Linked DNA regions of Homo sapiens: region 2 is linked to region 1. Evidence: promoter capture Hi-C in human tissues and cell types (Jung and others, 2019). All regions are on one chromosome and are shown on one strand. The core of a region is centred on a gene start or on the middle of the fragment in contact, and the rest is flanking DNA. Distances in the headings are between cores, read along the strand shown. Region 1 holds the start of CHST1 (carbohydrate sulfotransferase 1). Region 2 has its middle 95 kb from the start of LINC02687.

Evidence for each region. The method cuts DNA at HindIII sites, captures the fragments that hold promoters and counts their contacts. A contact is called where the count stands out against the background at its distance.
Region 2: a fragment that was not itself captured here is called in contact with the fragment with the promoter of CHST1 in region 1 in 1 of the 25 tissues and cell types used here (H1 embryonic stem cells).

The regions. Positions count from the first base shown.
Region 1 is chr11:45,664,285-45,666,901 of GRCh38, forward strand. CHST1 (carbohydrate sulfotransferase 1) reads right to left here and starts at 1,338. Exons shown (of 4, transcript NM_003654.6): 1 at 894-1,338. The HindIII fragment of the contact is 12,246 bases long and covers 1-2,617 here.
Region 2 is chr11:45,465,012-45,467,628 of GRCh38, forward strand. No RefSeq gene overlaps it. Among named protein-coding and RNA genes, the nearest start is that of LINC02687, 95 kb to the left of the region's middle. The HindIII fragment of the contact is 7,479 bases long and covers 1-2,617 here.

The DNA of each region.
Region 1 (2,617 bases), core at 88-2,587:
CTTCAGGCACCTGGACCCTAGGAGTGGCCCTTCCTAGGGAGTCCGCTGCCGAAGAGCAGTTTTAAGTCCACCAAGAGGAAGCCGGCCCCAGAGCTGAGGAAGGCAGTCCTGTGAAAGGGCAGGCCCGGGGTGGGGGAGGGGGCACACCTGAAATCAGGCCAAGGTGCCACTCCAGGACGACCCCCGGGTCTTACCTTCCTCAGGCAGCCTGGCCTTTTAACGCCCAGCATCCCAGCTAGGGTTACTCTGGGCTGTTACCGCGAAAGCCAGCACTGGGTCCCTGGAGCCTGGGAGGGGCTGATCCCCGGGTCCTACCCAGAGAAGAGCGGGAGGGTTGTTCCGGCTTTCCGTGGTGGGCTCTGCACCATCCGGCGGCTCCGGCCCCACAGGGGCCCAGCTCATCGCAGCGGTCTGGGTGCGGAGGCCGGGCCAGGGCTGGGAGCAGGAAGCAGGGAGCGGCGCCCCCGCCTCCGGGTGCAGCTGGGTTTGGAAAGTTGGTGCGGGCGCGGGGACCTCAGGGTCTCAAGGCGCCTCCGCAGACCCGAGCCAGGCGGGTCGTGGGACGGTGAGCCCGGAGCAGCCCCTGAGTGCGCTCCGCAGCGGAGGGGAGCCAAGCGCCTCGGGGGCCACCGCGCGTCTCAAGTTTGCTGCCCTCCTCGAATGGGGGCAGGGAGGGCTGAGGTGATCGCGGCGCTCACCGGCCACCAGCCCCGGCAGCCCCTTCCTGCGCCCAACACGCCGCCGTTCCTCGCCGCCGCCACCCCTCCGCTCACCGCCGGTAGCTGCTGTCCCCGAGCGGAGGGGCGTCTCCCACCGCGCCCGCGCCCCTCCCGGCTGCTGCGGCGGAGTGTCCGCTCCCGCCCGCCCCGGAGCCCGCGGGGCCCGGCCAATACCTGGTCGGGGACGCGCCGGGAGCAGCTGCAGCGCCCAGCGCCGGCTCCATCCTCGGGTCTGGAGTCAGGGTCGCCGGGGACCCGCGGGTGGCGGCGGCGGCAGCAGCCGCGGCGGCATCCTCCGCCTCCCGCGCCCTCCTCCTCGGCCTCCCTCCTCCCTCCTCTTCCTCCGACTCCGCGCGCGCCTCACGGGCCCCTCTTCATGGCCCGGGGGCGCGAGCCCGGGGCGGCTCGAGCAGCTGAGTGCGTTCTCTCCGGCCGGACGCGGGACCCGGGGCCGGGGCTCAGGGACCCGAGAGATGCCGGGACAGGGGCCGGGACCCGGAGCGCCGCAGCCCCGGGCGCCGGAGGAGAGCAGCAGCCGCAGGCACCAGAGCCTCTCGGAGCGCCCGCCCGCGTCCCCGAGCCAAGAGCAGCGGCGGCAGCGGCGGCTACAGCTCCGAGCGAGCGGCAGGCGCTGCGGTCCCGGCTCCACCCCCGAGCCGCCCGCCCCTTCTCCTCCCCACCCCTTCGGCGCGCGCCTTCCCGCCCCCCGCGCCGCCCCAGCCGCGAGCGCCCTGGACACCCACTCCGCAGCCAGGCTCCGGAGCCCGCCCCCACCCACCCGCCGGGGGCAGCCACGCCCACCACCCGGACTTCGGGCGGCCGGCGGGCAAGGGCACCGGCTGTCTCTGGCACCTCTCCGCGTAGCCTCCCTTCCCCTTACCCCCGAGGGCGCTGCTGGCCGGGCCGCCAAAGCCTTTCGCCCCCCCAGCGCCCCTCGCCGCGGAAGTCCTGCTGGAGTCCCAGCCTGGCCCCTGGCCCAGCTGTCCTTTACCTCTTGCCCAGCCAGCGGCACAGAGGGACTTCAGAACCCAGAACTGAAGCCAACCATCTCTGTGTGCAATACCCTGACACACACCCCTAGCCTTTCCTCCTTCCCCGCCCCTCTGCTTCTCAAGTGTGGGGATGAATCATTTGTCCCCGCTGCAGTTGTCCCTCTTGGGCAGGGTCAGGGGGTGTCTTAATGGGACCTTAGAGTGGGTTTGCTGGCTGACCGTCTTCTAGGCCGCTCCTCCACACTGCCCACCTTCTTCCTACCAGACTGCCCCTGGCTTTCTAGGTGGCAATCTGGAGCCACCACTGCTTTTATGGATGAGGGATGGGGACAGAGCTGGCCAGCCGAGCACCTTGGGCCTGTATCCTCTGCACAAATATTGACTGAGCATCTTCCACAGGCCTGGCCTTCATGGGCACCAGGGACTGGTTGATGAACCTCTCAGAGTGGAGTGGAGGAGAAGCAGGGTGCATGAGCAGAGCAATATCATGTGATCAGTGGCCCCTGGGCTGGAGAGGACGGCCAGGAGTCCCAGCTCTGCCACCACATCTGACATGACTGAGGCTGCCCACCCCAGTGGCCTGTTTCCTCATCTGGAGACTAGGAAGGTGCTTTGTCTGGCTGAACCTCTGATGCTCCTCAGTTCTGACCAAATGGTTATTTCTGAAGCAGAGGAACAGTCAGCCTTCATCTCCACCTGGAATCTCTGATTCCCGACTATAGCTCTCCATCACTCCTGGACTGGGGCGCAGAGAGCAGTGGATGGCTTGAAAACTCCAGGCATTCTGGGAAAGCCTCGTCCCCGATGTATGGGCAAGCAGCTGCTGCCTCCATCCCACACAGTGAAGCACAGCAGAATGGTTAGCACAGCAGTTTCCTGGGTCAGAGGAACCTGCTGTGTGTTTGC
Region 2 (2,617 bases), core at 63-2,562, 200 kb before region 1:
ACACCATGGTGAGCGGTTTAAAGATAGGGCTTTGAGCTGTCACTTGGTGGTTCACAGCCAGGCTTCATGGTCTGAGTAAGATCAGGCCTCAGTGAGGCCAGATATAGCCTGGAGAAGTGCAGGTTGAGTGGCTGGGAATGGAGTGCCCTGCTGGGACCTGGAGAAGTTTCCCAGCTCTACTCCCACCTCCCTGCAAGGCACATACACTTTCTTCTTGAGGATGATTCTCCAAGAGAACCTCCCTTGGGAACAGATCTTTGGAGAGGATGGAAGCCTCCTAAGAAGATGCCTCGTCTTCCGAATCTTCCTTACCTCCCTCCCTCTGAGACTCCCTTAGGGGTCCCACTGCTTACTCTGCCCTTCCAGTTTCACTGCACACTGGCCTTCTCATTCAGTAAGTCATTTTGAAGATATCTATTGAGTCTCTACTGTATGCCACGTTCTGTGCTGGGCCCTAGGGATGCAGCAAAGAAGACACCATGGTCGCCTGCCATTATGGAGTTTACCATCCTAGGAACAGGCAGGTTTGCTTGAGCCATCACCTGCACTCTCTCCTTGTTACTCTGTAGTCCAGACCAGGCAAAGCTGAGGCGTCTTGTCAATGTTAAGGTCATAAGGAGTGACCAGGGGTCCTGAAGCTCTGGTCACCATTGTGGGGTCACAATGTTAAGGAAACAGAGTTAGGCTGGCAAAACAAGGGAAAAGAAAAAAGAAAAAGAAAATAAGCTACACACCTGCCTTTCTTCACAATCCAGGACACATAGCCCTCCTGTGCAAATAACTCACAGTCTTCCTGTACCCAACTTACCACCAGACTCTCAGCTGATTAAAAAATGCAAGTTAGCTCACTGCAACCTTGGCATTATCAATACTACACATAGCCCTCTCCAGCACAAGCACCATCCTATGAACTCCCCAGAAAGCTTTTGTCTCCTTGCAGTCAGCTCCTCTCCTGCTAATCTACCCGTTGCTTTCTTACATCTTTTCATATCTTCTGTAATAAATCTGCCTTTCTATACCTATGACTGTCTTGATAAATTCCTTTACCACCCATGCCACCACCCCCATATAGTTGCTACCCATGACAGCCATCAGTCTGCTGTGCAACCTTGCATAAGTCGCTCCCCTGTTCTGGGCCTGGATTTCTTCCTATTTGAAGGGAGGGATACTGGACCAGATGACCCCTCAGGCCCCTCTTCTTTTGGTGGGTCCAGGAATTGACTCTCACACATGGGTTCACTCCCAGGATGTGATTATTCATGCAGCAGATCCTTGCAGAGGTCACTCTGGCCATGAAGCATGGCAGGGAGCCACCATGACCAGGCCTGGCCTTCCTTTCTCCAAGGAGACCCCAATTTAGGTTTTTTTAAAAACAAACAATGAGAAAAATCATTTGGGATACCAGCAAACTTAGGCCAAACAATTTTTCGCCTGCTCCATAATTCTCCTTCCTGAACAATATTGAGAGATCACCACCTTGGTTTCTGCCTATTTAGCCCTTATCTCCTGGGAAAAGAGCACACAGATCTTAGCATAACAGGCTTCATAGTCACTGTGTGTCTATTTCACTCCCAAGAGATAAGATAATCATCATTAATTATATGGTGAATAGTTGGGGGTGATTGTTGGCTTCAAGCCCATACAGAAAAGCCGTACCTCTTCCACTCAGGTTCTCACATTCTGGAAAGGAGAGGCAGCTGATGAAGCGAGGTGGCTAAGACCACAGACTTTGAAGCCAAGCTGCCCCTGTTCCAAGTCTGTTTGAGCTTGGGCAAGTTTCTGCACCTCTCTATGCCTCAGTTTGCTCATCTGTAAATTGGGAATGATTAGAATAGTCCCTACATATCTCAGAGGGTGATTGTGAGGATTAAATGAGCTATTGTTGAGTGTCTGGGTCCAACCAATGCCCCAGTAGTGTTTGCTGAATAAACACTAAGTAGGCCCACCCACTGCACGCCTCCAAGGCAAGGCTCAGGAATCAGACTCAGGAAACCCAATGCCATTGATCTTGTGGCCCATGCTAATCCAGTGACCTGAAAACAGCTAATTTTAATTCGTAGAGAACTCACTCTATGTCAGACACTCTTCCAAATGTTTTGTGGGTATATGTGTACATTTACCAAGTTAATCCTCACAATAATCCTAGAAGATATGTAAGCACTACTTTACCACTCCCATTTTATAGAAGGAAAAACTGAAACATGGAGAGGTTGCATAGCTGGTTGTGGGCATCAGATTTTAGTGCTACAGCTGGGCAGAAAGCAGAGCTGCAGGGGTCTCGAATCCCAGCTCTGTTAGCTCTGAGCAGCTGTGTGATGTAGGATTAGGCATTAACCTCTCTGTTTCTCATTAATTTTGAAATGGGGAAAACAGCACCTAGCCCACAAGGCCTGAGATAATGTGGGTGGCATGCCCAGCATGGTTTCTGGCATATGATGGGGCTCAGGAAATGGGAAAAGTTATAAAAAGGAAAAAGGGGGACTGAGCAGATGTCCTAACCCCAGGACAGCCCCACAGAAGCCGGGACCTGGGACCGTCTTTCAACTGCACTGAAGGTAATTGGAGTGGGGGCCCTCTCTCTTCCCACCCCCACTCAGAGCCCCACAGAATGGTCCTA